Regions from separate parts of the Homo sapiens genome. Here region 2 is linked to region 1. Evidence: promoter capture Hi-C in human tissues and cell types (Jung and others, 2019). All regions are on one chromosome and are shown on one strand. Each heading gives the region's core, a stretch centred on a gene start or on the middle of the fragment in contact. The rest is flanking DNA. Distances are from core to core; before and after follow the strand shown. Region 1 holds the start of FBLN1 (fibulin 1). Region 2 overlaps SMC1B (structural maintenance of chromosomes 1B).

Region 1 (4,501 bases), core at 327-2,826:
CGCGCTCCCCTTACATCAAGCTCCATCTCTTCTAAAGAGCCTCCAGGGAGCCCCCAGGGGCTGCGAAGGCTCCTGGTGCCAACACTGAGCTCTGCGCCTCCCCACACCATCTCCAACCCCACGAGGTGCCCAGGCCGTGCCCAGCACCGCCTGAACAATCAGAGCTCCACAGGGCTCTGCTGCAGCCAGCCAGTCAAGAAAGCTCTGTAGAGCTCAGCTCCCAGCCTCCCCTCCCCCTCCAGCCCCCTTCAGCCCCCTTCCTGGAATCCCCCAGTGAGCATTAGTTGGGACAAGCGACCTTTTGACTAACAAAGGCGGTCACCAGAGGTTAAAAGGAACTCAACTAAACCAGGGATTAAGACTCGGATTCTGAGGGTGGTCTAGGGCACTCCCCTGGACCTGGGCCACTGGAGAAACAAAGACGCCAGGAGTGCCGGGCCTGGCTAGTGGCTCTGAGAAGCCACGGGTCAGCAGAGAGGTCACAGGTCATAGCTCTGCCGCCCAGCAGCTGCTCTGATCAGAGGACCTCGTGGCAGTCCCCCCAGGGACCAGGCCTTGAGGGTTAGAGGGGAGAAAAGCGCGGGCTGGGTGGGCACTGTCCCGGAGCTGTCAGTCCCAGAGTTGGGGCCTAAGGTCTGGGCCATCGATCAGATCTGCTCTTGGAAAACTCCATCCCCCTTGCCGTTGGTGGAAGTGACCAGTCCCCAGTCCCCGCTGAGCACCGAGCCCGGCAGAACCACTGCCTTGGGCCCTCTGTCCCGGGAGGGAGGCAGGGAGGAGGTGGCCAGGTCCGCATCCCCTCCATCCTCCCAGCTACGCCCCAAAAACCTCCAGGCTGCTCCCTGGCTTTCTCATTTCTTCCTCTCCAGCCCCTATCCCAGGACCGCTAGTGTCTCCTGGGGAAAAGACTGCTTCCCACCCTCCAGGCTCAAGTTTCACATCCGCAAGCTGGGTACAACAGCTCCTACCTGGGGGTGGAGGCGGGAAGCGGTGAGGAAAGATAGCCGAGGGCGCTTCCAGCGTCAAGTGCAAGGCGCCCTGGGCTCGGTAACCCCCAGCCAGCGTCCCCCAGCCCAGCTAGCGCCCCTGAACCCCCAGGGCCCGGGATGCGGCCCCCGGAGCCGGCTGGATTTGCTAGGACTGGGGTAGGACGGTGTGTTTGAGGGGTGGGGGAATCCGGTTTTGAAACAAGTCCCCAGGCCGGGGAGGAGATGAGGACCGGAGCTGGCCGTGGGGGAGGGGGGCGTCGCCGAGGCCTCGGCGCTGACAGTCCGGGGGCGCCGCGCAGGGCAACGCACGGACTCCGAGTCCCCGTGGTTCCGAAACTCGCAGGGAGCGCGAGGCCGAGGGGGTCGGGACCCTAAGCTGGGGCGGCGGACCCGGGACGCCCCTACCTCCGGCCGCCAGCAGCGCAAGGCCGCCGAGCAGCAGCAGCGGAAGCGGGACCCGGCGCGACGGCGCGGCGCGCTCCATGGGCGGCGGGCGACGGGCGGTGGGCGGCGGCGGACAAAGGCGCGGGCGCGGTCCTGGGGCAGCGGCGCGGGCTCCACGCTCCGGCCGAGCCTCGGCAGCCAACGCTGGGCCAGGGCCGCGCCGTTCAATTATCCCGCCCGGGAGGAGGGCGCGGCGGAGGCGGGGCCGCGGGTCTCCTGGTCCTCCCTCCCCGGCGCCCCCTGCCGGGACCCTCCCTCCCCGGACCCCGGCTGCGAGGGGCGCGCGCCCACGGCTGGGGGCGAGGGCCTGGATCCCAGACTTCCCCGGAGGGGGCACAGAGGGGGCGCCTTCGGGCCGGATGCCCCCAGTCCTATCCCCCAACACTCCGTGAAACCCGATCCCCTCCTCCCCCCACCCCCTCTCGAGGGGAGGGCTCGGGATCAAAGGTTATCCCCGCCCGACTCCGCGCGGAGGAGCGGGGACCCGGGCCTGCAGTCGGAGGCCCGGCTGCTGGGGGGCACTGGGGCAGGCCTTACCGCCAACCCCGCACCCTCGGCCGGGAGGCTGCAGGTCGGTGGCTAACCCCAGGCGTGTCCCGGGATGGGACCCGACTCTGCCCTCAGAGACAGGGACAGTCGGGCCAGGCCAACAAACAACCAAAATCCCAACGTGTGCTGGGCTCACCCGGGACACCAGGGCCGGAGGGAGAGACCCGGGAAGTCACCGAGGCTGCAGGGGAGGCAGCTTTGGCGCTGGGCCTGCGGGAGCCTCTTGTATAGGAATTCATAGCTACCGGGGTTACTGAGGATGAGTTAGGCTTTGGAACCACAAGTAGATTTATTTTCCAAAGAAGAAGAATAAAATGGTGCAGGTGAAGATGCGGAGGAACTGGATGAGACGCATAGGAACGCCACTGGGCAGCTCAAAGCGGTGTTCCTGTGAGTTCACCATGGACCCCTTGAGCCACCGACGCCCCGCCCAGCCTTACACTCAGCAGAAACGCATACAACATGTGCTCCAAAAGACAGAAAGACATGTAGCCGCACATTCATAATTCCTCCAATTGGGAAGCCTAGCGTCATCAAGGCAGATGAATATCGTGGAGTATTCGGGCTTAGGAGCACGACAAACGGAACAGGAGTGAATGATCCGCAACTCACATAACGGGTAAATCTCACAGACGTAAGTCAGAGTAATAGAGTCAGCCACAAAGGAACACTCGCTGCATGATTCCATTTACATAAAAGGCAAGAACAGGCCGGTGGCGGTGGCTCACACCTGTAATCCCAGCACTTTGGGAGGATGAAGTGGGCGGATTGCCTGAGGTCAGGAGTTCGAAACCAGCCTGGCCAACATGGTGAAACCCTGTCTCTACTAAAAATAAAAATAAAAATAAATTAGCCAGGCATGGTGGTGCACACCTGTAGTCCCAGCTACTCGGGAGGCTGAGGCAGGAGAATCGCCTGAACCCGGGAGACGGAGGTTGCAGTGAGCCGAGATCTCACCACTGCACTCCAGCCTGGGCGGCGGAGTGAGACTCCGTCTCAAAAAAAAAAAAAAAAAAAAAAAAAGGCAAGAACAGTTCAGAGGTCAGGAGAGTGGTGATCCTGGAGTGGGAGCGTGCTGGGCTTTCGGGGGCTGGTTAGGTTCAGCTTTCTTACTCTGGGTATTGGTTACAAGGTTGGGCTCAGTTTGTGAGAATTTATTGAGCTGTTCATTTATGGTACGTGCCCTTTTCTGAATACATGTTGTTTCTTTCTGTTTTTTTGAGATGGTGTTTTGCTTTTGTTGCCCAGGCTGGAGTGCAGTGGCGCAATCTCAGCCCACTGCAACCTCCACCTCCCGGGTTCAAGCGATTCTCCTGCCTCAGCCTCCTGAGTAGCTGGGACTACAGGCATGCACCACCACGCCTGGCAAATTTTGTATTTTTAGTAGAGACGGGGTTTCTCCGTGTTGGTCAGGCTGGTCTTGAACTCCCGACATCAGGTGATCCACCCGCCTTGTCCTCCCAAAGTGCTGAGATTACAGGCGTGAGTCACCGTGCCCGGTCACATGTTAAATTTTAAAATGAAAAACAAAAGGACAAGAACTCATCTCCCCACAGGGTGTCTTATAAGTTTGAAGTTTGCAGAGAGCCCAGGAAAGCTTACCAAGGGGACCAGCATGCTCACGCCTCTGAGGTTAAGGAGGCCCCTCAGGAAGAGGTGACATGCGACTGGCCAGTGAAAGGTGAGCAGAGGTGGGAAGGGTTTCCTTGGTGGTGCCAGCTTTCCTGATGTCTCTGCAAAAGTTTGGAGGCACCAGAGATCCTGGTCCGTTTTGACTTTGGATGGGGTGGGGTGCGGAAACAGCACATCAGCAGATGGCCCGAGGGAGGCATTTCTGAGTTGGAACAGGTTGGGAACTCATTACTACTTTGGTATTAACTTAATTCGTTTAAGCCATCGGAGAATGGGGTGCCCTGGAAGGAGTCTAGATGACTAAGGGAAGGTGGTGGAGGGCGAAGGGGGAACCAGGGGACCTGGGGGATTCAGAAAGAAGACGTAGAAACAGGCAGAGGGGTAGAAGGAAACCAGGAGAAGGCAATATCCAAGAAGGAATCAAAAAGTGATTCTGGGCAGGGCGTGGTGGCTCATGCCTGTAATCCCAACACTATGGGAGGCCGAGGTGGGTGGATCACTTGAGGTCAGGGGTTCGAGACCAACCTGGCCAATATGATGAAACCCCATCTCCACTAAAAATACAAAAATTAGCTGGGCATCGTGGTGCATGCCTGTAGTCCCAGCTACTTGGGAGACTGAGGCAGGAGAGTTGCTTGAACCCTGAAGGCGGAGGTTGCAGTGAGCCAAGATTGTACCACTGCACTCCAGCCTGGGTGATAGCAAAAAAAAAGTGATTCTGGCTGGGACTGCCCAGTGTGGCCCAGTGCTCAGTGAAGCCAGGACTGAGAAGTCCCAATGGGGATGGAGCAGGTGGCCGCTGGCGATGTGACCGGGGCCCTTTCTGGGGATGGGGAGGGAGTGGCTGTGTTGTGGGTGGCTGAGAAGGGGGTGGGGATGAGGAAACA
Region 2 (4,443 bases), core at 240-2,739, 110 kb after region 1:
ACAAAGAAATTTGCTCTCATGCTTCTTAAGGTGAATTAGCAATTTTTCAATACTGTTTATGCAGCTGGATCGTTATAAAGAACTTAAGGAACAAGTAAGAAAGAAAGTAGCTACAATGACTCAACAACTGGAAAAACTGCAGTGGGAACAGAAGACAGATGAAGAAAGACTGGCATTTGAAAAGAGGAGGCATGGAGAAGTTCAGGTGTCTTGGGTTGTACAGTAATGATTTAGAATCATTCTTAATGAAATTTTATTTCCTTTTTGTACCTGTCTCCAGAATGAATCTCCTTAACCTTACACTATACTGTCTCATTTCATTTATTTCATGATTTGGCAGATGAAGATACAAATATAATAGCCATAATCTGTGATAGTTCTGTGAGTAGAAGAGGCATTTTGTGCAAGGAGAAAAACAAAGGTGGTAACATAGCAGGAATTACTTTTAAAACATTTGTATAATTGTGTAATTGATATGTTATAAAATTATACACTGATTTATGAAAATACACATTGGACATTTTTGCCTTTGTACATGCTAGTTTCTTTTTGGAATAACCTATTCATCTTTACATGTTAAAATCTAGAGTTACCAACACCGCAAAGCCTTCCCTGGCCCTCCTTTTCTTTATATCCCAGCTCCTAAAAAAGCCAAAAATAATTTCTTCCTCATATAACTACCTATTATTATTTGATACGGAGTTTCGGTCTTGTTGCCCAGACTAGAGTGCAATGACGCGATCTCGGTTCACTACAACCTCCGCCTCCCAGGTTCAGGCAATTCTCCTGTCTCAGCCTCCTGAGTAGTTGGGATTACAGGCATGCGCCACCATGCTTGGCTAATTTTGTATTTTTAGTAGAGACAGGGTTTCTCCATGTTGGTCAGGCTGGTCTTGAACTCCTGACCTCAGGTGATCCATCCTCCTCAGCCTTGCAAAGTGCTGGGATTACAGGCCTGAGCCACCGTGCCCAGTCAATTTTTTATCTATATCTAAGGGCTTTTGTCAGATCGCATAAAAATTAAAATTAATTGGTACCTCTCTACTGGACTGGAAGCTTATTAAAGGCAGGATTCTAATTGTGTCCATTGTAAACCTTGCACTTAGTAGATGTCAATAAGTGTTGGTTGAATTGCTGTTGTCTTTTGAATACAAAAAAACAAGAAGAACACATGTAGTTGCAGACAGATGGAGAAGACTTGTGGTAGTCTCCAGTTGGATTTAATGATAAAGTGAATAGAACAAAACTTTCCCGAAATCCTCATCCACAAGGCTATTAGTTGCCCTACAGGTGCCTATATTATTATAACACAAAACCACTCTACTATAATTACTTATTTAATTATCTGTCTCTCCTACCAGACATTAGTTCTTTGAGGGCAGGGACTCTTTCCTGCTTATTTCTGTACCTCTAGTTCCTATCACATGGTAGCCAGTGAATATATTTAGATTGTTGCAAAAGTAATTGCAGTACTTTTGTACCAACCTAATATATTTGTTCAGTACATTAGTTAAGGGGTAAGAACTATATAGATATTTGAAAATAATCTCCTTGAAGTTTGAAGTTACAGAGAGAAATCGCTAGAGATCAAATATCTAGCAAATGGTAAAGATTCAGGAGTTGAACCCTGATCTGTAATTTGCTCTGATAAGTGTTTTCATATAATTATATTTGATATCTTTCAATTTTATAACAGCTTATAATATTATAGTAAGTTCTAGGCATGTAATTTTGTTGGTTTGGAATTGCCGTAATTGATTTTAGATTTTATTTCCTCTTTTAGGGAAATCTAAAACAAATAAAAGAACAAATAGAAGATCATAAAAAACGAATAGAGAAGTTAGAGGAGTATACAAAGACATGCATGTAGGTAGAGTAAAAAAAATTTCTTGCAGCAATTTTCTTTTATTTTTTGAGAGAGGGTCTCACTCCCATCGCCCAGGCCAGAGTGCAGTGGCGCAGTCATGGCTTACGGTAGCCTCAACTTCCGGGGCTCACATGACGCTCCTACCTCAGCCTGTAGCTGAGACTACAGGCACATGCCACCACACCCAGCTAATTTTTTCTATTTCTGGTAAAGATGGGGTTTCACCATGTTGCCCAGGCTGATCTTGAACTCCTGGACCAAGCAATCCACCCTCCTCGGACTCCCAAAGTGCTGGGATTACAGGTGTGAGCCATCGCACCCCTTGCAGCTTTCTTATTTATGTATTTCTTCCTTTTTTTTTGAGACAGGGTCTCACTCTCACCCAGACTGGAGTGCAGTTGCGTGATCATGGCTTACTGCAGCCTGCACCCACTGGGCTCAAGTGATCCACCTACCTCAGCCCCCTGAATAGCTGGTACTACAGGTGTGTGCCACCACACCTGGCTAATTTTTTTTTTTTGTATTTTGTAGAGACAGGTTTTTGCCATGTTGCCAGGCTGGTCTCAAATTCCTAGACTCAAGCCAGCCACCCACTCAACCTCTCAAAGTACTGGGATTACAGGAGTGAGCCACCTGGCCCAGCCACATTTTTCAAATCAACAAAGAATGAGCAAAATCTTTTTTGCCCATGTTTGGTGTCAGGTTTATTGCATTTTTTACCCTTTAAAAATTGATAGAGCACTGCTCTATTCCCCTGCAATGCCAGACAGGAGTATGTTGTACCTGGTAATTCCTAAATTTTGGTTTATCATTTTGCTGTATAATTTGTTGTTATTTTGTAGGGATTGCTTGAAAGAGAAAAAACAGCAAGAGGAAACCCTAGTGGATGAAATTGAAAAAACAAAATCAAGAATGTCTGAAGTTAATGAAGAATTGAATCTTATTAGAAGTGAATTGCAGAATGCTGGGATTGATACCCATGAGGGAAAACGTCAGCAAAAGAGAGCAGAGGTTCTGGAACACCTTAAAAGACTGTACCCAGATTCTGTGGTAATGAGAATGAATAGTTAATTTAAACAAAAAAAACTAAGCTTTCCTGTTTGCTTTCAACAGTATCTTCTCATTTGGGATTAGAAATATTACCATTATTACAAAGCAATATTATTTCAGACATCTTTAAGTTTTGTGTTTGACTCTTTATATTTAAAATGTGACAGTAACTAATTAGGGTAAAACTTCCAGTAGTAGCTGTAGATAACGTAATTATTGGGGAGAAGCTTGACATGAACATAGTACCCAGAAAGTTCAAATTGTGGCCAGTATCCCCAAAAGGACCTGGATGCTGTGAAGTACTCTGAGCCACCCAGACACATAGCCTCAAACCTCATGTTTTTCATGGTTTTATTTGTTTTTGAAATATTTTTTCAGCAGACATCATTGGCATATTTTTATTCTGTAAGTATGACTGTGCATCTGGTATTGCTAGTGTATTTCATTAGCCAAAATACAGTATCACTTGTTGCTTGGGGTGCCAGCATCACAAGATTATTTCCTTTTGTATCGGGGTGGCATCTGATCCTCTTGTCCCTAACATCAGTGTATACTGTGCAGTCCTTATTTTATGATATGGCCTGTTTTCAGCATTTGAGACTGGTAACCACTGCTCTGTTTTGAAACACCTACCGGCCAGGGCAGTGTCTCACGTCTATAATCCTAGCACTCTAGGGGGCTGAGGCTGGTGGATCACCTGAGGTCAGGAGTTTGAGACCAGCCTGGCCAACATGGTGAAACCCTGTCTCTACTAAAAATGCAAAAAGTAGCCGCACATTGTGGCAGGCGCCTATAATACCAGCTCCTCAGGAGGGTGAGGTAGGAGAATCGCTTGAACCCGGGAGGCAGAGTTTGCAGTGAGCTGAGATCACACCATTGCACTCCAGCCTAGGCCACAGAGTGAGACTCTGTCTCCAAAAAAAAGGAAACATCTACCATTGGCCTCCATATCCACACTTTCATGGTTTTCCTCCTATGTCTCTGGCCACCCATCTTCATCTCCTTTATAGCATCTGTTTTGACTTTCTGACTCCTAAATGTTGGTTTCGACTTCTGGATAATGATGGAGGAGTAAATCTAGGTCACAAAATCTAGATCCCCCAATTCCTATCCAAGTGACAAAAACTAGTGAAACACACACACACACACACAACTAGTTAAAAAAAAAATCGACCTGATGCCATAAACTTTAGAAAATGGTGATAATCTAGGATTTAAAAAAAAAAAAAAGTATTGAAGTATAGCATTGCTTTTTCTCAACTCCACAGAAGCTGAACTGATAAATTGACTAATTCCTGAGAATTCTCACCTAGTATTCCTTGATCTAGCAAGAAGCAAACTCACATGTATGTGTTTCCTTTTCCTCTTCTAACTGGAGAGAGATTTAAAAACTGGTGAACTGGGTGCCTGTAATCCCAGCGCTTTGGGAGGCCGAAGTGGATGGATCACTTGAGGTCAGGAGTTTGAGACCAGCCTGGCCAACACGGTGAAACACTGTCTCTACTAAAAATACAAAAAATTTAGCT

The links. Contacts are between HindIII fragments. The study calls those that stand out against the background at their distance.
Region 2: a contact is called between a fragment that was not itself captured here and the fragment with the promoter of FBLN1 in region 1, in 4 of the 25 tissues and cell types used here (IMR-90 fibroblasts, dorsolateral prefrontal cortex, stomach and 1 more).

The regions. Positions count from the first base shown.
Region 1 is chr22:45,499,958-45,504,458 of GRCh38, reverse strand. FBLN1 (fibulin 1) reads right to left here and starts at 1,576. Exons shown (of 17, transcript NM_006486.3): 1 at 1,395-1,576. The coding sequence starts at 1,473. LOC105373066 (a long non-coding RNA gene) reads left to right here and starts at 3,472. Exons shown (of 3, transcript XR_938305.2): 1 at 3,472-3,663. RefSeq lists enhancers at 1-348, 349-962. The HindIII fragment of the contact is 10,534 bases long and covers 1-4,127 here.
Region 2 is chr22:45,392,108-45,396,550 of GRCh38, reverse strand. It overlaps SMC1B (structural maintenance of chromosomes 1B), which reads left to right. Exons shown (of 25, transcript NM_148674.5): 7 at 65-205; 8 at 1,784-1,866; 9 at 2,710-2,917. Among named protein-coding and RNA genes, the nearest start is that of SMC1B, 19 kb to the left of the region's middle. The HindIII fragment of the contact is 3,124 bases long and covers 1-3,051 here.